7 separate regions of the Homo sapiens genome follow, and regions 1, 3, 4, 5, 6 and 7 are each linked to region 2. The links are contacts of gene promoters, found by promoter capture Hi-C in human tissues and cell types (Jung and others, 2019). All regions are on one chromosome and are shown on one strand. Each heading gives the region's core, a stretch centred on a gene start or on the middle of the fragment in contact. The rest is flanking DNA. Distances are from core to core; before and after follow the strand shown. Region 1 has its middle 130 kb from the start of LINC02920. Region 2 holds the start of NRIP1 (nuclear receptor interacting protein 1). Region 3 has its middle 180 kb from the start of LINC02920. Region 4 overlaps ASMER1 (adipocyte associated metabolic related lncRNA 1). Region 5 overlaps ASMER1 (adipocyte associated metabolic related lncRNA 1). Region 6 overlaps ASMER1 (adipocyte associated metabolic related lncRNA 1). Region 7 has its middle 170 kb from the start of LINC02920.

What was found. Contacts are between HindIII fragments. The study calls those that stand out against the background at their distance.
Region 1: a fragment that was not itself captured here is called in contact with the fragment with the promoter of NRIP1 in region 2 in 1 of the 25 tissues and cell types used here (lymphoblastoid cells).
Region 3: a contact is called between a fragment that was not itself captured here and the fragment with the promoter of NRIP1 in region 2, in 1 of the 25 tissues and cell types used here (lymphoblastoid cells).
Region 4: a contact is called between a fragment that was not itself captured here and the fragment with the promoter of NRIP1 in region 2, in 1 of the 25 tissues and cell types used here (dorsolateral prefrontal cortex).
Region 5: a contact is called between a fragment that was not itself captured here and the fragment with the promoter of NRIP1 in region 2, in 1 of the 25 tissues and cell types used here (dorsolateral prefrontal cortex).
Region 6: a contact is called between a fragment that was not itself captured here and the fragment with the promoter of NRIP1 in region 2, in 1 of the 25 tissues and cell types used here (dorsolateral prefrontal cortex).
Region 7: a fragment that was not itself captured here is called in contact with the fragment with the promoter of NRIP1 in region 2 in 1 of the 25 tissues and cell types used here (mesenchymal stem cells).

The regions. Positions count from the first base shown.
Region 1 is chr21:15,194,786-15,198,083 of GRCh38, reverse strand. No RefSeq gene overlaps it. Among named protein-coding and RNA genes, the nearest start is that of LINC02920, 130 kb to the right of the region's middle. The HindIII fragment of the contact is 3,516 bases long and covers 1-3,298 here.
Region 2 is chr21:15,063,326-15,066,667 of GRCh38, reverse strand. It overlaps NRIP1 (nuclear receptor interacting protein 1), which reads left to right and starts at 1,668. Exons shown (of 4, transcript NM_003489.4): 1 at 1,668-1,923. RefSeq lists enhancers at 767-816, 3,267-3,316 and silencers at 1,147-1,326, 1,577-2,436. The HindIII fragment of the contact is 21,921 bases long and covers 1-3,342 here.
Region 3 is chr21:15,249,593-15,252,520 of GRCh38, reverse strand. No RefSeq gene overlaps it. Among named protein-coding and RNA genes, the nearest start is that of LINC02920, 180 kb to the right of the region's middle. The HindIII fragment of the contact is 3,544 bases long and covers 1-2,928 here.
Region 4 is chr21:14,819,446-14,822,647 of GRCh38, reverse strand. ASMER1 (adipocyte associated metabolic related lncRNA 1) reads left to right here. Exons shown (of 4, transcript NR_146322.1): 4 at 1-3,202. Among named protein-coding and RNA genes, the nearest start is that of ASMER1, 98 kb to the left of the region's middle. The HindIII fragment of the contact is 3,318 bases long and covers 1-3,202 here.
Region 5 is chr21:14,837,843-14,841,050 of GRCh38, reverse strand. The region is part of intron 2 of ASMER1 (adipocyte associated metabolic related lncRNA 1); the gene reads left to right. Among named protein-coding and RNA genes, the nearest start is that of ASMER1, 79 kb to the left of the region's middle. The HindIII fragment of the contact is 3,862 bases long and covers 1-3,208 here.
Region 6 is chr21:14,898,300-14,901,340 of GRCh38, reverse strand. The region is part of intron 1 of ASMER1 (adipocyte associated metabolic related lncRNA 1); the gene reads left to right. Among named protein-coding and RNA genes, the nearest start is that of ASMER1, 19 kb to the left of the region's middle. The HindIII fragment of the contact is 6,600 bases long and covers 1-3,041 here.
Region 7 is chr21:15,231,756-15,235,013 of GRCh38, reverse strand. No RefSeq gene overlaps it. Among named protein-coding and RNA genes, the nearest start is that of LINC02920, 170 kb to the right of the region's middle. The HindIII fragment of the contact is 4,847 bases long and covers 1-3,258 here.

The sequences.
Region 1 (3,298 bases), core at 464-2,963, 130 kb before region 2:
TGGGCAATACTTAAATGTAAAAGGTCATAGATAAACGGGAAACTTACATGTTACAAAGAAACCAAATCCTGGGTTTTCAATAAGCACTTATAATAGACACGTAACCTAATGAAGGAGTCTTACTTGGTTATAAATGATTGCAGCAAATTTTGTAATAACCACCACAACATCACTTTAGTATGCCTGCCAAGTACAATGAAGCATCTATCAAATATAATTCCAGCCTGTAGTTGTTGGGGAGATGTTATTTTTAGAGAGTCTTGAGAAATTTATTTTCTCCAGATGTTAGTTTTCTAGCATTCTGAGAAGACTTTGACTTAAGTCACTTGGTAAGGGAAATTACTACAATCAAAGAGACTCCACAGTGCCATGCTGCCCTCCAGTTTTTAAAAATCTCTGTCTCAGCACTAGTCACTAGGGCAGAATGCATCTCTTGAACCAATTTTATCACCTGAAAAGCAAAAGTATTTCTGTCCCTGAACATTGACGTCAACTCAAACCTTATCTGGATTCCCCACAGCAAAATGTATAAATAATAATTAACAATTACGAAGTGCCAGAAACTGTGCTAAGTGCATAATATGTCTAATCCTCAAAAGGCCCCCATCATATGGGTGATAACATTTTCCCCCATTTTACAGCTGGGAAAACTGAAACATAAGGTGTTAACATAAGGATCCCAACCCAGGTAACCGGTTTCAGAGCTAGAATTTCTAACCACTACATTATTCAGCCTCATCTGGGCTCATTAACACAATTAGCAAAAGCTATAAAGAGTCAAGGTTCTATGTGTGTGCGTGGTTGAGGGCAGGGAGGGACATACTGAATATTAAAGATTCTATTTAAGGTCATTTTTGCATAGGAAATAGGCTGTCCCTTTACTACCTTATAACTCACATCCTGAAGTTGAAAATCCAGGTATCATATTTTAACTGTCTTAAAGACACTTAAGTCCAGTTTCACCTGGGAAAACTAAAAACTAGAACTGTATTTGAAATAAATATGTAAGGTAAGCACAGCTTGAAACTTTAAAGGACAATCAGTTTTCTTTAATTTTTTTGGAAACTTTCAAGCTTACAGAAACACGGTGAGAATAGTATACGAAATAACCATTGAACTTTCACCTAGGTTTTTTTTTTGCTGACATTTTGCCGCATTCGATTTATATATATTTTATTTTGCTCAAGTATTTGAAAGTGAATCACAGATATCATGACATATAACCCTAAATATTTAAGTATGCATCACTGTAAAGTAATAACTATTTCCCACAATTTGCCATAATAGCAATATTATTGTTGTCACATCTAAGAAAATCATAATTCCTTAGTACCATATCATAGGCAAGTCATATTTAAGTTCTCCCTTGTACAGAACATGTATTTTATAATTGTTTTGTTCAAGCTAGGGTCAAAACAAGATCTACTCATTGCTTTTGCTAGTTATCTCAAGTCTCTTTTTCTAATTTCTTTTTGAAGTTGCTTCACTGGACACTACAAGTTCCTTCTTAAATATTCCTTAAAATAAGTGATTTTTAAAATTTAAAAACAAAGATTGGTAATTGGAGTTGATATCTTTTTTAGGGAAATTAAAACAAATAAAAATAACCAGTTGTCTTTTTATTATCTTTTAGATATCCTTTTCAAGTTGTCTAGTACAATGACTTTTACCTGCCTCTTACCATAGTCTCATCTTTTCCAGCCTATGTGTCAGATGAAAACCAATGAAAAAAATAAAACCTTAGAAATTCAGGGCTGAATGATCAAAGATGTTGGAGATCAACTGGCATAACCACCTCCCTTAATACATTAGAAAACCAAGTTCCAAAGAGGTTAAATAAATTGTCCTGGGTCACAACTATATATCAGCAGAAAATGGAGCCAGCACAAATGTCCAGTCCTTTTTCCAGTAATATCACAGTAGAAGAAGATCATATTGCATGGCCCCTGTCTTTCTAAAAGATTGCAGAACAAATGACTTTTCAGATCCTATGCTCTGGCACAAAAGTCAATAAAGCTATTCCTGACATTCCAATTTACATCTGTGACAGCACTTTTTATCAAGCTAGTCTGCAGGTGAACTCTCCAAACCCAGTCCAAACCTATGGACATGAGGTCAAAGGTTTGTTGTGAGTCTTTTGTGCTCTCCCGCATGCCTGATAAAGGCCACATACAAACTGGATGGACTATGTCTCTCAGTGGAACCTCATAAACTCAGCCAGTAGCAGTTTAAAGGAGACCCAATGCAATGCCCTCTTCCAAAACTGGTTTTAAATATAGCTTTTCTCTTGCCACTGGGGGAATATTTCTCCTCTTTCTACGTGGTTGTGGTGAGAGTGCCAATCATGACTTGTCTCTACCCAATAGGGAAACATTGTGTGGCTTGATTAATCGTGGAATACCCTTCTCTAATTCACATGGTTTACAGAGCACATGCACAACCCTAGCAGTGACAATTAGACAATTGCACTCATGCAATTCCATATATTGGAACTGGGAGTAAAACTGTTCTCTCTTTCTTTTGGATCATGTTCTGTAGGGTATGAGCTTTGACAACCTTTCCTGCCAATGCACCTGGTGAGAAGCTTCAGTCAATTCTTAAAAAGAAACAAAGTCATGTGGATCTAAGACATAGAAAGAGTGAGCCCTGACAAGAACGCTTAGACTTGGAATTCTCGGTTAGTTAATTGAACTAAAAAATCCACTTTTTTTTTTTTTTTTTTTGGAACATAGGGTCTTGCTCTGCTGCCCAGGCTGGAGTGCAGTGTTGTGATCAATCATAGCTCACTGCAGTCTCAACCACCCAGGCTGAAGCTATCCTCCTGCCTCAGCCTCCCAAGTAGTTGGGACTATAGGCACAAACCACTACACCCAGCTAATTTTTAAAATTTTTTAAAGACAGGGTCTCACTATGCTGGCAAGGCTGGTTGCAAACTCCTGGGCTCAAGTGATTCTCCTGCCTTGGCCTCTCCAAGTTCTGGCATTACAAGCATGAGCCACCACACTTGGCTACTTTTTTGTTTGTTTGCTTTGCTTTGCTTTTGCTGGATTTCTGTAATTTACATCCAAAAACATTCAAATGAGTACAAAGTTCTACTTTGTAGAGAACCGTCATCCTAAGGTTTTAAGACATCTAAAGCTAATGGTTTGTACTTTGTCACAGCTATTTATAATTTTTTTATTTTTATTTTGGAGATAGAGTCTCACTCTGCGGCCCAGGCTGGAGTGCAGTGGTTCAGTCTTGGCTCACTGCAACCTCTGCCTCCCCGGTTCAAGCAATTCTCATGCCTCAGCTTCCC
Region 2 (3,342 bases), core at 419-2,918:
TGGCACTATGTGCCCGGCACTGTGCTGGGTGCTGAATTTATTAAGCATTAATTTGAAAAATTGCTTTCACTTTCAAGACTGTGACAGTATTCTAAAACTCTCATTCATATTGTTTAAAGGTTAAGTGAAATTTGCAATACACAATACAGCCATTACATAACAGGCACAGAATACAGTTTCATGACTTGGATAGTTTTTGTTTTTTAAGCGCATTAGCAACTTCATTTCCAAATGCTATCAAATTCTTCAGGATATGAAAACCTACATATAAGAATGGAGTGCCTCATCGGCTCATTTGTCTTATGTAATAAGTGTTTTAACACGGGCATGCCGTTTCAGAATTTCGGGTGAGACTAAGCTGTACTTTAGCTTTTTTGTGTCAAGCAAAAACAATTTCAGCAACAACACTCGCTTCCCCTGGTAATTTTTTTCATGGCGAATTACTAAATGCTAGATGCTCAAGTCAAAAAGAAACCTGACATCTGGGGAGGTGTTGAGGGGGTGTTAATAGTTCTAGTGAGATGTCTGGGGAGCGTTGAGGATACGATTTTTCAAACAGCAAATACAAGGATAAGGGGAAATTATGGTTTCGTATGACTCTCTCCTCCTTCCACTTTCTCGTTTCACCAATCTGTGGCCCCCCCAATTTAGAGGCGGGTTCAGTGAGATTAGGCTGCAGGAAACCGAGAGGCTCCACCGCGCTGCCGCCCCGGCCTCGTGATGTAATTGTTATTTCTTATTCGGAGACCGAACCGAGGAGAGCTGCTGAAGAAGTAGCAGCCCTGCTCCTTTTCCCTTGTCTTGTTGGGTCAGATCCTTCCCGGGGATGATGCAGATTGGCTGACAGACTCCGCTGGAGACTTCGCAGTGACAAAGCAGCCGAGGATTAACCCTGCTCCTGGGTCCTACGTCTGTCCAGGGAGCTGAGCGGGGCGCTCCTCAGGTCTCCTTCCTAGTTTTCCTCCCAGAGTCGCTCCACACGAGTGCTGGGCGCCTACTACGTGCTGGGCGTGGGGTCAAAGTGACCCAGAGTTCGCGCCCGTGCCCCCCAACATTAAAGCAGGACACACAGATTACAAGGAGATAGAAATTGGGGGTGGGTGGGTGAAAGGGGGCCCAGAGAGCGCGTGTTGTGGGGTGAAGGGGAGGAGGTAGACGCTTAAGGCAGGCGGGGACCCTGGAGCGTCTGGGGCGCCCCGGCCCCCAGGCTGTGCCCAAACGGGAGCATTCGGCCTGGGTCCCAAGAGCGCTTTCCCCGGTCCCCAGGAGGAGCTGTCCAGGCGCCTGCAGCGGTCGCGGGCGGCTGGACAGAGCTGGGAGCCCGGGGGACGGCCCGGGCGCGCCGTGCAGCCCCTCTCTCGGGGACGCGGTCCTCTCGCTGCCTCCGGGTCTTGCAGCCCCGTCTGGGACACCCGGAGAGCAGGCGAGAAGGAAATCCACGAAACAGAGGGGGTTCCGCAGCTCCTGTGAGCCGCCCGGATCCGCGCGGCTTCCTCCTGACCGGGTGACAATGGGAGGGAGGGGGAGAAAAGGGTTAAGAAACTTGGCTGAAGAGCTGAATGGCGTGGGGCGGCGAGGGGAGGGACTGGGCCGCGGCGGACTCGGCGGCGGAGGGAGGAGCGCGGCTGCGGGCGGGCGGTGAGCGAGGCGCTCAAAGTCAGCCTCGCAGACATTGCAGCAGAGCCCCGAACTCGGGAGGCGGCGGCGGAGGAGGCGGCGGCGAGGCGCAGGGACGACCCGGCCCCACGCCCGCCCGCCACCCGCGCGCGCCCGTCCGCCCGTGGCCTCGCGTCCGCCGCTGCGCCGTGAGCGCCGCTGGTCGGAGGGAAGAGCTCGCCGGGGCGCCGGGCCAGGACGGGGCGGCAGGCGCCTTCGCGGACCGAGCCTGACGGAGCCGGAGGCTGGGAGCCGCGGCGGCCTGGGGTGAGTGACGGCCGCGGCCAGGGCGCCAGGAGTAGCGGCCGCCGGCGCCGCCGGAAACGGCCCGGGAGCGCGGCCCGCGTCGGCTCTCGCTTGGCTGGCAGGGCCGCGGGGGCGTCGGGGCGGCGGGGAGGGCGCGTTTCCGGGGAAATCCTGCCTCTGCTGCCTGGTTCGAGTCTCCGGGTTCTCGCGGGGGGCCGGGGCGGCGGGCCGGCAAGTTGTGGAGTGGCCCCGGGTCGGCCCGCCCGTCCGTGCCAGTTCTGGGCAAGGGGGCGGCCGTCGCGTGGCCCCTGAGCGGGGCCGGACTCGGGGGGCCGGGTCGGGGTTGCCCCCGCTCGCTTGCCCTCTCGGTCCCGAACCCCGGGCACCGCTCGCCTCGCCGCTCTCCGTCCTGCTGTCCAGCCGGATCCTGGGCGGCGCCTTTCGCCTGGGTGCCTCCCTGCTCCTTGCTCGCTGGATACCCGGCTGGGAAAGTGAATAGGAAAAGGGACAGCTCGCCCGGCCCCCACCCGACCCCGGGCCGCTCTGCCCGCACTCGCGGTCCCCTCCCGATGGCGAGGCTCACGGACCCGAGGCCTCAGCCATCATTTTACCAGGAGCCAGGGGCCGGCCCCCATTTAGGGTGAGCCCGGTGGAAGTCCGGGAGGCTGCCTTTTCTCCCTTCTTCTGTGTCCACCTTATTACGATTGAATATTGTTTTATGAAGGTTTCCGTGGATGTATTCTGCAGACCCTCCCATCCCTTCCAAAGTAGTTTCCCAATTTTGATCAGGAGTTGGTGTTCAGTCAGAAGGAACAAAGGAACCAACTGTGTCTTAGAGGCGGACAGGCTGGGAGTCTGTGACACATGTTGATCTCTGAAGCATTCCAGGAGTTTCTACCTTTTATCACGTCAATAATTGGCTGCTGAAGGTAGTAAAAGAAGTACGGAATGATAAGCACTTTTGCGTTTTAAAAATATTTTTTAATGGCACATTTTACTTTGGGGAAAAAAGACGTTCTTAGGCACAAGGATTTTTAAAAACCCAGTTGGTGGAACTGAGTTGGAGTTTGTTTCTGGTATTGTAAATGATTACATGTGGGATTGTGAAGGAAATTGTGTCCTTAGAGGAAGAGAAGCCATCTGTAGGTGTCCATAGTAAAAATGGTTGTCGGGTTATATGTGATGAATGCTCTTTCTGTTTCTTGGGGGAATTTGTGAAGCAAGGGGCTTCGGTAATTCATTCTTTAAAGTTATGAATTGCATTGAACCTGCTTATTAGTGAATCATAGGTTTAGTAAGTGGGTGGCATTATTCAGTGTTTAATCATCAGTTTTCCACCTTTGTTGAAGAGACAGTGAAATAATAGACTTTTTAAACAAATGGTGTTTCATCTGCCTGGCCCCTAAGTGTCGGTTGCCGCCTGGAGTATGTTGAAGTGTT
Region 3 (2,928 bases), core at 25-2,524, 190 kb before region 2:
GTCATCTAATGATTTAAGGGTCACCAAAAACGGTAGCCACATTGCTTGAATCAGAATATGGAAAATGAGGCTGTTCCCAGCAACTTTTCACACGCATGAAATGACCCAGCTGTGGAGAGGGACTTACTCTTCCCTAGCAGCCAGCTTCTCTCACATGGCCTCTGGCCACGCTGCTCCCTCTGCATGCAATGCCATTTCACCTGGCTGACATTTTCCCATTTTTGCTTTTGTTTTTGTTTAAGATTCATAGGCATCGCTGTCTCTGAGAAATCTTCCTTAACTGCCCTGTTCTGAGTGCTTGAATTGGATCTCTGATTCTTATTTCTATCCTGGCATTCATCACATTGCTATTTATGTGGAAGCCTTTCACTAGACTGTGAAGTCCCAAGGCGAATCGTGTGCTTCAGTCATTGTGGGATCCTCAGCGGCACTCAATCACGGTTGCGTGAACAGAAAAAGGAGCTCTCCTAGCACTGGCAAGCCACAGCGGTAGAAGATCACGGACATGGGGCAATATACACGATAGCACTGAGAACCTGGGAAGAAAACCCAGGAGAGGAAGGAGAATTCCAACAGTGACAGGAGAAGGGACACAGACCTGGGAGATGACATCATCCATTTATATGTGCCTTGAAATATTTTAATGAGACACTACTCCTTGCCATGTTCTCTGACCTGCACCAAATGCCTGACACACACAGGAGTACTTCATATGTGTTTACTGATTGACTAATTGCCTAGTTCTGGCTCAATATGTCTCAAGAGCCAAGTCAGGGTTATGTAAAATACATCTAAATGTATTTTATGATGATCCTTTTAAAGCATCATCACATAATCAGAACCTTTTAAAGCATCATGACATGTAGAGAAAGGCTCCACATGTACAGTGAGGGGACTCCAGTAGTAGCTGGTGTGCATCAATAATAAAAGTACAAACAAGATGAAACCTTCCTTCAAGCTTGTCATTGTTAACAGAGGAAACAGAAAAATGTATATACAGTAAAAATGATACAACAATATATATTAAGAGTTGGTCTGCCCTTAAGGATAGTGGAGAACATGCCCAATTGTCTTCCTGGGGTCTAGGTCTGACCACAACAAAACTGGATCACAGGAAGAAGAGATAACATGGTTTCCATCCTCACATCCATTAACATCTCCCTCATTGGGTAGCTTAAGAGGATGTTTCAATGTAATCATCCCCCTTATCAGAGGGTAGCCTAATCAGAGCAAGGCTTAGAAATTTTGTGCAATGGACATCACAAGCTGTTACGTTTTTGTAGATATCTCTCCTGCAACTACAGGGAAGCCTGCCTAGGGTGAAGCTAATATGCAAAAGAAGCAGAGCCAAAAAATCACAAAGAAATAGAACAAGAACTTTATTTGAACTACACCTGAAGCCTTCCTATCTCAGTACTTCTCAGTCCTGTCAACCAACATAGGCTACTTATCTTTTATCCAGCTTGAGTTGAGTTTCCGCTGCTTGCTACAAAACATATTTTGATAGGTACTAGAGAAGGATCTATGTCTCCTTCTCATGTGTCCTCTAATTGGCCTCTTGCACAGGAGTGTGTAGGGAATCTTTTGGGGGCACTATACCGTGGAAAGTATTAAGATTACAAATGTTCATAAGAAATAAAATATATGGAAAAAATAGCAATATTGGCATAGAACACCAGACATGAATGCTACTACAATGCAAGAAGGATTATAAAAACAAAATTCAGGTAAAATCTATGAATCATTCTTCTATAAGAATAGTCTAAGGGTTGAGTGTGACCCTGTCTGGTTGTAGATAAAGAACTCAAAGTGCAGTCATATACTTAGTGGGGGGAACAGGAGTATTTAAGAACCAGTGAAGGCTGAATTGTTCCTCTGATCACTCAGTCAGTGATCATTACTGACAGAGTAAATGTGGAATTTTTACTAAAGAATTACTTTTCATTGAAAGCAAATATGATTCACCAGCATAAATACAGAAAAAGAAACAACAGGTGGTGACTACGACTTAAGACATTAAATTTCCATGAGTCAGTGAAGCCAGATGGCATGGATCTGAAAATTCCAAAAAAATTTCAGATCAAAGCATTTTAGATACTAACAATATCGGCAATTTATCATGTAAAACAACTATCAGAGTTAGGGAGTTTGCCAAATATATTCTATGGCACTATTTGGAGAAGCACAAATTGTTCAGGGAGTTCAATTAATTCAATGAAACCTAACAAATTTATTAAACACCAAGTGCAAACCACTGTTCTAGGCACTGGGTACCGGAAGGTGTTTAAGACAAGGTCATGTCCTCCATAATCGATACTTAATTTTCTTATAAAATTTTTTCATTTGAAGGTGAATTAGTTAAGGATCAGCTGCAGATCACGGAAACCATTCTGGCTAGGTTAACAAGGGTAGATCTGGGGGCTTTAAGATTTGTGGAAGCTCTGGGGGCATAAGCCCTAAGCAGAGTGCCCAGGAACAACTTCCAAAACAACAGTCTAGAGTGAGCCTCCGTGGAAGACACTGCTTTTACCACGATAAGGGGGCTGGAGAAGCAAGAGGCTGCTAGCTCCCCAACCACTATGCCAGTTTGTCCACAACCTCTGCCAGCAAAATGAATGCTTCCCACACTGCCTTTCCACACTATAAAGCTAAACACTGGACATTGGAAACTCTACTACAGCTACTGCAGAAGAAACAAACACCCCTAAAGACAAGCTTGCCAGGGGAAACAGCTGAAACAACAGAAGCATGGAATTGGCCACAGGATGTGCACTTCCATCTTCCAAATCTCAGAGAGGCATACATTTGACAAGCAGCTGCAAATGAACCTGGGAAATGCAGATTTTAGCAGTACTGCATCATAGTGCGGTATCGTACATCCAGGCACGCTGAAAGGGAGTGGAGTGGAGGCTGAGGGAAAATCCATAG
Region 4 (3,202 bases), core at 345-2,844, 240 kb after region 2:
TGTGTTTAGTAATTTTAGTTAGTGAGTAATGATTAGCAGACAACATGGTAATTATATTGAAATATTACGTGAGTGCCAATAACAAAGCTTTCTGATCAAATGCTAAGAAATATGTTGTGTAAAGGGATCTCACATTTTTTATTGCGGCTTTCTTTCTACAATGTGACAAATTTCTGGGATATTTCATTATCTTCTTTTTGAATTTTTTTCAAGCAAGACTGTTCAGTATTATGTTAGCATTGATATAAAAAGAAGCAGACCATTGTTAACATTAAAATGTTACTGAGATTTCAAAGGTAGAGGACATTATCCTTTCTTATTTTTCTTTATGATACAGTATTTGTAACATAGTGCTTCTGAAATAGAAAGCACTTTTTGGAAAATAAGTTTAGTGAATAGCCAAATAATTTCTTACATATAACTTACAAAAGTAATACCATCTAGGCTAAGCTATTAAAAATATCAGTACATCAGTAACTACTCATTATATTGACCAACCAGAGCTTATCCATTTTTGGTCATTCTCATCTAGATATACACTTTCAGGCTAAAGAGAGATTTCCTTCCTTTTTCAATTGGTTATGAATAGAAGTCATCAATTTTTTTCTTACTTCCATCTTAATGGTTTGAAATAAAGAGTCAGATGCACGGCTTTTCAATTTCTTTTACTACTTTATTTTATTACTTGATTATTTTAAGGTCAAAAGATTTCCATTTCCAAAATACGTAATAGAAATGATAAAGCAGTAAAATTTGGACTTAAAATAATATGGACATTTTTCTTACAAGTGTCAACATGATTTACACATTATTAAAAAGGCAGTAAAATTTGAACTTATACAGCATAAACTTTACTTAAACTGTCAAATACATGGTTTTAAAGTTATTTTATTAATCTATCACTAATAATTATTTTTCTTATCAACAGAGAAAGTGAAGTTTCCTAAGCCATCACTAGAATTGGAAACACTAGATTTTATAAATTAATTTCTTTTCATTGACCTAAACTCCACATTTCTGCTGTGTTCATCTGAGGTCATGTCCATATAGTCAAATAGCTGAAGGAAAGGTGATATTTTTAGTCAAATCAAACTCCAAACATCATTTTTATCTAAATTATCTGGAGAATTGAATAAATATTTTTTTAAGGCTGTCTGTAGAAGAAAATTATGTCAATTTTTCATTTAGCTAGAGAGGTCCTGACCACAGTGTCTTCTGTTGAATTTCTCCTCAAGGTAGGATTCCAAAATACCTGGAAAATGTGAAACAGTGTTCCTCGTATGGGTAATGTAGCATCTTCACAAAAATTCTGTCATGATTCATTTGAAAAATAATACCTTCTCATGTCTAAAATAGTTTTTCATGAGAAATACATTCTATAAGAAAAAAACAATTGGCCTATCTTAGAGGAAAATGCTATTAAAAATTGTGTTATGGAAACAGGTAACATTTTCTTTATCTTTGTGAGTTTTTTCAACATAAATTTTGGTCAGAGAAATCATTTCAAAATAGAAGAGAGTCAGAAATAATCAGTACAGAAATGGTTTTGTTGAGAACTGTTAATTGAAAAGGCACCAAGTGAAGCCCTCATCTATGTTTGCATAAAAAACTGTTTTCATCCCTAAGAAGCTTGTAGCGTTTGGTGTTTCTAGAAAGCTACCGCAGAAGTGGTGCTGTAGGGGATAGTGATTTTTTTTTTTTTTTTTTTTGCCAACTGATGTTCCTTAATGGCAGCAGGCTTCTCAGAAAAAATGGAAAATTAATAATTCTATATAGCAAGTTCTACATATCATCACTCTATTCTCTAATACTTAGTGTTTAATGTACATAAAGAGTAGCCAATTGTGATATTAACAAACTTATTAACACCTGTTGACAAAGATCTTTGAAGACAAATCTACACGCAAGCTTTTGCCTTAGCGAACAACAGGAATAGTTTCCTTAAAAGGATACAGCTATTTTGAAATTTCCTCAACCATTGCATCCCAGTGGGGGGGATACTTACATGGTAGGACTGTTTGGCCAAAGTGCTTGAAGCATTAGGACACAACAAAGATAGTTTTGAAATGTTTTCTTGCTCAAAATACATTTGTTCTTAGGACACGGCTAGTGCTCATTTTACATTCCATGCCTGAAGTGTTTAAAACACTGTGGTACAGGTTTCTGATTCTGTGTTGGTCAATTTTGAAATCCATGTGTTAGTAGTAAGTGTGCTGATTCGTAGAGTGGGTAACTTCTGGGAACTCCCCTTTCTTTTATTGACAATTTCTTTGTAAAGCAAATGCTAATTCTACAGGCTATTAATAAAGACTGGAACTCCCTTGTTCATTAGACACGCAGTAGGAAAATGGGTAACATAGCTGTAGAAATATATTTGCAATATGTTCTCTTCGCACAATTTGCATATAAATGCCGCTTTCCCTATTTACTCAAATTAGCAATGTGTAATGGAGCACTCATAGCCTTTTTGTAGGTTCCTGTGACCTTTAATTGGCACTCATTTCAGACAATTGCCATTTTAGACATTGCTATCGCCATCTTTTGCAATTAAGTTTCAAAGTTATCATCATGGCATTTTTAATATTTAGAAATTTCTTTTTTTATCTCTGGCTTTCAGTTGAAGACTATTCACCCCGGTGGACTCATCATGTTGGGGACTTTCAATTGCTACTTTAAAAAGAACGCTTCACTGAAATAGGTCTCATCCCATCAGGAACATAGAAAAACAAGCAGCAGGCCGGGCGCGGCGGCACAGGCCTATAATCCCAGCTACTTGGGAGGCTGAGGCAGAAGAATCGCTTGAACCCAGGAGGCGGAGGTTGCAGTGAGCCGAGATCGCGCCACTGCACTCCAGCCTGGGCGACAGAGAGAGACTCTGTCTCAAAAAAAAGTAAAAAAAAAGAAAAAAAGGAAAACAAAAGAAAAAAGAAAAGCAGTTGTTTATCTTTTGGCTTAAGCCAAAAGAACCTCAAATGAAAGAAAACAAACAGATGCCATTAGAAAATGCACTAAAGATATGATGAAAGCTTATCAGAAATAATAATAAAAAATCAAATGTAGCACATCCTATGTACCTGGCACTGTTATAGGAGCTGTGTCTGTATTAACACGTAAGTGTTTGAGGTAGGTACTGTTATTATCCCTATTTGCCAATGAGAGAAAGAAGGCAAGAGAGCTTAAGGAAGTTTTCCTAATTGCCCAG
Region 5 (3,208 bases), core at 525-3,024, 230 kb after region 2:
GAGGATCAGGGAACTTTTCCTGTTTGAACAAAGACAAGTTCTTACTGCACGCACTCAGCTGGATGCTGAGCAGAGATCAGCAAGGAAATTTACCTTTGCTGGCTTGGTCAAGAGATCCTGAGATCTCAGCTGCAGCCTTCAGAGTGACTGGGGAGTCCCAACCATCCCATCTTCATTGCCAAAGTGTTGCGGAGGGAAAACTCTTCTTGTACTCACTTTGGTTCCTGGCTTGGAGGCCTGCAGATTAAACTGACAAAAGACAGATTAGCAGGAGAAATAAAAACTAAAGTTTATTTATATATGCATACGGGAGCACACAAAAGAAGTGGCCTCACTAAATAGCTAAAGTTAGGGTCTTATAGGCCTAATTTAAAAGAAAAAGTGAAGGAGAGAGAAAAGGCTTTGATGAGAAGAACATACATGTTTAGGAAAGACATATAGATTCTTAGGGGAACAAGTGGGAGAAATTGTGGTGTTATTTATGCAGGTGCAAGCGGTCTTTTCGTAGCGTCAGACTCCTTCAGAGGGGTATTCATGATAGTTGAATTCTTTTGAAAGTTTCTACTTCTAGGTAGATAAGGAGAATTCAGAAAAAGACTTCACAGTTGTATATCCTGGATCTCTCCACCACAATCCTATTACAGCTGTTACCCATTTTCACTTCCAGGTTTGCTATATACATAATACATTTGTATACATAAGACATAATTCCTGAAAGTCTCATAACTAATGACAGTGATGCTCTATGTATTAAATATAGCATATATTATGTATATATTTAAGCCATGGGGGTAGTTGAACTAATTAGGTGTTTTAGTTATATTTATTTCTTTTTAACGCATTACATGACGTAGGGAATGTGTGAAAGAAATCAGAAACCATGGCTTACATTTCAGTTTCTCATGAAGCTGTGTAATCTCGAGTCTGCTCTTTGAAAGTTGTTTTTGTATTTGTTGGTGAAGTGAGAATAATAATAATCTTCTCGCAGGACTGATGAGATATAAGGAGATAAAAAAGATGAAAGAACTTGGCAGACTGCTTGGCGCATAGTAGGCATCCAATACATTTCAGTTGAAGCTAAATCTACTTGGATCCAACTTCCCACGATGGCAACAAACTAACCTGCCTATATTTTCTCTGGTTTCCATTCGATCCTTGTCTTACTTGTAACATAGTTTAATCATAGCAGGGATGCACTAATGTATGCTACTTTTTTTTCACCAAACATTCGATATATCATTATTGTACATTATCACCATGTTATCCCTTTTAAGGTCACTATGCCATGCTGTCACTAAAAATCAGTCAAATGGAAACACACAGTCATTTACAAGCACTAGATAGTAGTTTGGCAAGGTGGAAGCTTATACTTTTAGGTCATAAATTAATAGCTAAGTTAATCTTCCTTTTTTAATTAAGAAAAGTCAACCAAGCATAAATGTTGATTAAACAGATCATGGTACCAAAAGCAGCATATAGGTAATATATGTTACACAAATTACTCAGCCTGTATCTCTCCATGAAGAACAAAGAAGAAATCAAGGTGATTATCTAAAATATATAGGCATAAAACCTAATAAACAATTTTTTATCTCAGCCACATCTGTGAATTTTTTGCATGAATTATCTGTTTAATTCCTTCAACAATCCACTTAGCTCTTGGAAGTTTTATCTAAACCCTGTTACTGTCAATCATTAAAAATGATACTTTTTCTCTTCACTATTTTATACATGTGAATATTGAGACAATAAATGTCAAAGTGACAACTAAGCTCCTTATAGGAGATACTGAGAATAAAGGCAAAATATGAAAACAAAATTTCAAACTGCTCACATTATTTTGCTGGGGAGTTTTCCTGTTGCTCTTGATCAATATTTCTTAGTCTTGGGAAAAACCTTAGGGAACCAGCATCCTAAATTATTTCTATAGGGTGTAAATTCATCTGCTGTTCCTCAAAATAAGTTATTTATTTTTAGAGAAAAATCAATGTTGAATTTGCAACTTTATCAGGTTTAAAGGCAGGTTAAATTCAGTGACAAAAGTGTTGTTTCTCATTTATATTCTCTGTATTTGAATTCAGGTATCTGTGAACCTCGGGAAATCTTTGCTTTTTTTCTCCCACCTTCCTTCTGGTCTTACAGTCAGAGAGGAAAGGGATATAATGTTTATTGTCTAAGTGATAAACATAAATTGAATCATTTAATGGGCTCAGACCTAAAGAAAAGAAACAGACTTCCCAAAAGAAAGGAGTCATATTGTTTCTCTCCAAGAACAAAATGGCTTGTACTCTATTCATTGGGTATTCTACTCCATTTGGTAAGTGCTCTTTTCCTCTTGCTTTCAGTTTATGTTCAAACATCTACATGCATTTATCAGATTGCCTTTAGAGACTGCCTGTGAGGACAGGCATTTGCATTCACTTTGAACGATCACAGCATCTTGGTATAGCAAACATTCACACCGCTATGAAAAGCAGCAGTCTCTACTTAAAGTATACAAGTGTCACTTGAAATCTAAGCTCTTAAACAAGAGGGAGGACATCTGGCCTTACTCGTTGTGCTCCTTATATTCCCACAGTCTGCAAACTTGCAGAAAATTTCCTTAGCAAGTAACCAAACAACTAGGAAGTATAATAAAATGTACTCACTGATGGTGGATGCTCACTAATGTACCCACCATTGATTAAAAAAATGTAAAGTAAACTTAGAGTACTGTAGGTTAGTTTAAAGTTATCAATTGTGTAATGCAAAGTTGGAAGAGTTTAGCAAAGTATGAGTAAGGGTTAAGTGAAGAATATTTTCAGAGGACTTTTGCAGAGTTTCTAAAAGTATACAGTGGTTTAAAGGATATATAATTCTGACTTATTCTTTACTTGAAAATGGAATGAACTTGGCTCCCCTCAAGCCAGTCCCAATCAGATCGTATAAATGAAGGCTTTTATTGTAAATTCAGTTTTCCGTCAAGGATACTACTTTCCCAGATACTTACGTGACTTTCTTCTTTATTTTCCTTTCAAGTTCCCACTCAAATAACACCTAGATGTAATAGAATCCTCACTGTCCAGGAGCACAGTTTCGTTCTCACCCTCCCTTGTTATTATTTTCTCCTTAGATCTTACTACCTGTATGACATATTGTGTATTTATTTGTTTGTCTCTGGTCTTCCTCTAGAATGCAAATGTTATGAAAACAGGAGATCTACTGATTT
Region 6 (3,041 bases), core at 220-2,719, 170 kb after region 2:
CTTTTTAGAACTTTTCCGATGGTACTTGTGCCTTATATACATGCTAACTTTGCTAAATTCACACAAAAGCCCTATAAGACCGATAAAAATTTCTTTTCAATAAATGTTTCAGTTGTTAGTGCAAAACATTCTCTTTAAAATTATAGATAGCATTCTTATAATTCTTACTGTGGTTGATAACAACTTAAAATTTTTGAATTATAAAATTTGAATTGAATAGAAACTCACAGAAACAATACATTAATCCTTTGTCTTGGAATTTCTGTGAAACCCTATAAAAGTATGTGTACTCTCTTAGGGTCACCAAATGGCTGAAATGATTTTAAAAAATGACTTTTAAGCCAATGTTTATGTTATCCAAAGCTTTGGAAAGACAATACTAACAAATTCCAGTGGAAAAAAAGAATGTATTACTGAAAGAGAAGTGTTTGAATTGGGCTTTTTAAGTCATAAGGAAGAAGGCCAGCTCAAGGAGTTTAATTTAAGTGAGAGAACGAGGTCTCACAGGAATCCAGATCAAACTGAACACCAAACCTACAGAACTGAATCAGCCCTTCTCTCAAAACTGACTCATCTCTCAAGATGTCTCTTTCAAGGGCTATGTTTTTCTAATTTTTGCTTTGTTTTGTTTTGTTTTAAGACATGCTCTTGATCTTTTGCTCAGGCTGGAATACAGTTGTGGGATCACAGCTCACTGCAGCCTCAACTTCCCAGGCTCAGGTGATCCTTCTACTTTAGCCTCCTGAGTAGCTGGGACTACAGGCACTGGCTACCATGCCCAGCTAATTTTTTGGTATTTTTAGTGGAGATTGGGTTTTGCCATGTTGCCCAGGCTGGTCTCCAACTCCTGGGCTCAAATGGTCTGCCTGCTTTGGCCTCCCAAAGGTTTGGGATTACAGGTGTGAGCCACTGTGTCTGGTCTTGGATGTTTCCTCTTAATCTGCTTTTTTTCTAGTACTCTCTCTATCCTAACTGACTGCTTCTGCTGATTCATTCATTATTCACAGAGCCCAGATGGCTGCACCTATCCTGATTTTTTCATGGCTTCAGCCTCAAACTTTCCTTTCATGAAAGGAAAACAGTTCATTGGACATAGCCCTTTGAATCTCTTAGAACTGATTCCTAAGAGGGAGAATCTGATTGGCTAGGCCACAGGAGTCACAGATTGCTGTCTTATCTGTGGATGAGCCATTTGGTGGGTCATTGTTTTCCCCACATCCAGTCAGCTGTGGCCAGGAAATGGGATGGATCACCTTTCACACAACATGCTTCTTTAGACAGAAGTGGCTACAAGCACAGACACCTTAAATTTCTTACTATTACCAAGAAGGTTGTAGAAATGATTTCCTTAACAAAGGCTTTTCTGCATTTTGAGAAAGAAGGTAATCACATCTCACCCTTTAAATGCTTGATGCATGCTGGATAACACTCAATACTGAGAAACAATTTGAAATATAGGATCCAGGGTTTTTACATCCTGGAATTTAATAAGTTCCATCTTATTAAATTAGCCCTGTGTCTCCCTCATAAAACTATCTGTGTTGCTCTGGGATGCTCAATTTTTTATTAATTTTTATTATCATGATTGAAGCCCTAGAACTTTGGCAGCATGTGTTACTGGTACAGGGACACTGGTTACCAGAGGGCCCCAGTTGTTGGTTAGATAGTGCTGTCTGCTTGGTGACTTGGGTATTAGTGAAGCATGGCCAGAAGTGGGCAAGCATTTCGGAAAATGTACATAGCCCCATTAAAATGCTGACTTGAATGGATTACCAAAACCAGGTTTTGTAGATCAAATTCTTCTTTTGCTTGCTTCTGATGTTACATGTTAAGGCTATTTTCAAGATATAGATGTTGCTGAGACCTAATTCTTTTTCTCCCCTACTTTCAAAAGTATGAAGAACAATTTAAATTTTCTGCCAACGCTTCAGACAGGTTTCTTTTTGTTTTGGTTTTTGAGACAGAGTCTCACTCTGTCGCCCAGGGTGGAGTGCAGTGGCATGATTTCGGCTCACTGCAACCTCCACCTCCCAGGTTCAAGCAAATCTTGTGCCTCAGCCTCCCGAGTAGTTAGGATTACAGGTGTGCATCAACATGCCTAGATAATTTTTTTTTTTTTTTGTATTTTTAGTGGAGATGGGGTTTCACCATGTTGGCCAGGCTGGTCTCGAACTCCTGACCTCAGGTGATCTGCCCACTTCGGCCTCCCAAAGTGCTGAGATTACAGGCATAAGCCACCGCACTCAGCCCAAACAGGTTTTAATTTTTAGCCCATTATGGGTTTTGGAACTAAAATGTTGGGGATTTATAACCATAAAGGGATACAGACTTTGAAACCTGGGATCCCTTCAAAAGAATTAAAGGCAAAAAAGAGTTTGCACCAGGGATTTATAATGAGAATTCTAGCAAGTATTTAACTCTGATGGGCTTGTTACTGGTTGCATTATGATGTGGTATTCCCATTGTAAGTAGACTTAATTATAAACTATAGACCTATGGACAATCAGCCCTATTGAATAATCCTATACAAGGATACTTTGATTATTGGTGTTGCAGGCCTGCCAGCTGTAAACAAATTTAATAACTGGCTGAAGGATTTCTTGACATCCAATGATAAGACTTCATTCTCCCAGTCCTTTCTGAAAACTGAAAAAAGTTATAGATACATAATACTGCCAACTAACATTGAGTACTGATAGGTGCCATATTCTACGATGAGTGCTTCATGTGCTATATTTCATTTAATCATGATGAACTCTCATGGGATATGTATTGTTATCACTCCCTTTTTATAGATGAGGAAAACATTATGTAGAGAAATAAAGTATGTGCCTGGGACAAGACCTAGAAGAGAACTCAGATATGAGCAGAGGCATTTTAGTTCTAATTATAATTGCTTCTAATACCTAACTATGCTGTATTGACAACTGGCTCCCATCCTTAATTAAGGCTAGGAAAACCTATGGATTATCCATTCCAACACCCTAATTCAATAAATAAGGAAGGGGCCCAGAAAAGTGAAAGGGTCCTGTTGAAGTTTA
Region 7 (3,258 bases), core at 701-3,200, 170 kb before region 2:
TTTTTATTACCACCTTTAACTGTGACAAAAACTGAGGATAAAATCCTTATTAGCCTTATTTTACATATAATAAGTTGAGGGCCATAGAACCTAAAGGACTTGCTTAAAGGCAGAACTGGCAAATTTGACATCATTGCCCTCACAGCCAAGCAGCTGCTCCTCCTCTGTGCTCCTATAAATTTCTGATCTTCTCTCCATTGCAGTCTTTAGCAAGTAGTATTGAATATATTTGTCTGTATCTACCTCCTCTGTAGTTCTAGCTGTAGGTCTAACTAAAACCTCCATAGCCCCAGAACTAGATATGGGTCTTGGTATTCAAATATTTTCTGAACAAATGAAGCAATCAATCAATGAAAAACCTACTACTTTAAGAAGGAAAGAGAACATGAGCTAACCATTTAATGAGCACTTACACTATTTTTTAACTTTTAGGATCACAGCTACACGTGCAGGTTTGTCATGTAGGTGAATTGTGTGTCATGGGGGTTTGGTGTATAGAATATTTTGCCACCCAGGTAATCAGCATAGTACTCAACAGGGAGTTTGTCAGTCCTCACCCTCTTCTCTCGTTCCACCCTCAAGTTGACCCCTGGTGTCTGTCGTTCCCTTCTTTGTGCCCATATGTACTCAATGTCTAGGTGCCCGTAAGTGAGAATATGTGGTATTCGGTTTTCTGTTCCTGTGTTAGTTCACTAAGGATAATGCCCTCTAGCTCCATATATGTTGCTGCAAAGAACATGTTCTCATTCTTTTTATGGCTGCATAGTATTCCATGGTGTATATGTACCACATTTTCTATATCCAGTCTACCATGGATGGGCATGTAGCTTGATTCCATGTCTTTGCTACTATCAACAGTAATGAGCACTTACACATTTACCAGATATTGTGCTACATTCTACAAAGCTCATTCAGCATTATTGAAAGAGATTTTTCAAAACTGCCTAAGATTACATAAAATATAGCATAAATTTATGAGGCTTTAACCAAATACAGTACATCTAAATATTCAGGAATTGGATACTTGCTGAAGACTTAATATGCAAATTGTTGAAGATGTATTTCTTATGTATCGATAAAGAAAAAAAATAACTGGAGGCCAACCTAGAATTGCAGTCAATTTGTTCTCTTTACACAGATGTAAACCCAGCAGTCTCTGAATTTCTGTATTCATGCACATGGAGAGTAACAATCTCCCTGTTCTGCTGTGTGCTCTGTTTTATTTTAGGCTCTTTTGGTTTCAAGTAGCAGAACAGCTCAACTCAGCTTAAGCAAAAGAAAGATTTCATTATAAGAATTCAGGTGAACCTCACAAATCCAATGCCTCTAAAGAAACTGGAATCAGTAATAAAAGCTGTTAGGAACCCAGAGCAGGCTTGCAGTCTCTCTCTCCCCCTCCCCTCCACCCCCATGATTTCTTGTCTCTTTGTTTCTCTTCTCTTGTTTCTGTCATTCTTCATTGTCATTTCTCTGCCTCTTTCCAAATAATGGATGATGGGTGGCTTGTCCAGCATCCACAGACATTTTACATGTTGCTCATCTCCAGCCATTTTTAGAAACTAGATGACTCTGAGTATCGGTTCTTTGAGAGAGAATTTGACTGACTCAGAGTGGTCAAGTGTCCATCTTGGACCAATCAATAGTAGTCAAAGTGGCAAAGGTCTTGCAACAAAATAAATAAATAAAGGAACAAATGGAGACATTCAGGGGTGAATTTCTCATAGAAAGGAGGTGAGTGTCAATTGAGCAGATACTTAAATAATTTTATATTCCATACATGTTCTTTTCCAAAATTGTTCTTATACAAAAAACATATTTAAAAAATTTATAAGTTACCATTTTATTAGGTACTTAAAATATGCAATATTGAGCAGAGTCAATTTCTGAATGAGTCTGTAGTAGATTCAATCCTGAAAACTTAGACCACTATTTTTCAGCCACTATAAAATCATTAGGGATGATTGAATCAACACCTTATTTGGTCATTATGTAATTTTCTCCACTTTCCCAGATAGATTGACGTTCTCAGTTCAATGTAACTAGAACTAAAGAAAATCTGCCGAAGAAATGTTTTTTCTTAATATATTATAATCATGTTTGTGTCATAACAGAGTGGCTAAATGAAAGGGACATACTCAAATCACTACAGGACCAAATTAGCAAATTGAATAGTTTTGGTGTGTTCACAGAATAACAGATTAAACCACGTAACCTCAAGAGAGGCAGCTCCAATACACAGAAATGCCACATAGGAAGAGCCTCTGATCTAAGGACATAGCTTCTGTCCTACCCCATGGATGAAGGGGTAGGACAGAAATCATTCACCCCAATTTTTTCTTAGTTTTTCCTAGTTCAAAAATAATCCTCCAGCCTTTAACAACAGAAATAATCATTACATTGAACCTTGTTGTTGTTGGGGTTTTTTATTTTATTATTTTTGAATCTTGTTTTTAATGTAAATAAATTAGTAAAAATGAAATTATTCTCAGATTGTCATATCCAGTTTTCTTAAAAAAAAAAACTACCCCTTGAAAGTAGCTCACTACTTTCGAGCTAGGCAATAAACTGAGTGCACACATCCATCTCTTCCTCCTGTCCTGCCATTGAAGTGACAGTAAGCATGTTTAAAAGGGAATAAATTATAACAGCATTGTAAAAGGAGGTAATAGGCAGGGGCATAAGAAGAAAAAGTAAAAAGATGGGAAGACATGAAATGTATGTTCAGGGTGGAGGAAGCCATAGCCCTAACAGAATATTCATTGAAAGATGCAGCAATTCAGAAAGGACCCCTTCTGCTGGTGAAGATCTGTAGAAACTCCAACCTGAGAACGAGCAGATTAGAGAACAGGAATGGGCTATAAAACTGTGTCAGTCAGGGTTTAATCAGGAAAACAAATGTCTTTATAGATATTCCAAACTGAAATAAATCACTACAAAGGGTTTATTATCCTAAAGATGTAAGCAACTGGCTACTGCCAATAGCTGAAGTTGGTGATTCAAATGCAGAGGTTACCATTAGCAGTAAGGTTCTACCACTCCTGGGACTAGAGGGACTAAAGGACAAGGTAGGGTTTCCAGGTCCTGAAGCTATAGTGCAATCGCCTGATGGGTTCATCTTGCCTGCTGCCCAGAAAAGTTAATGTACTGAGAAAGCAGGTGTTTTCAGCAAATAAAGAGTTAAATAATCACAGGGCTGGCCAAGTAGAAGGACTGGAGTTAATTCTCAACTCCATCTCAATGAGAACTCAGAGGCTAGAG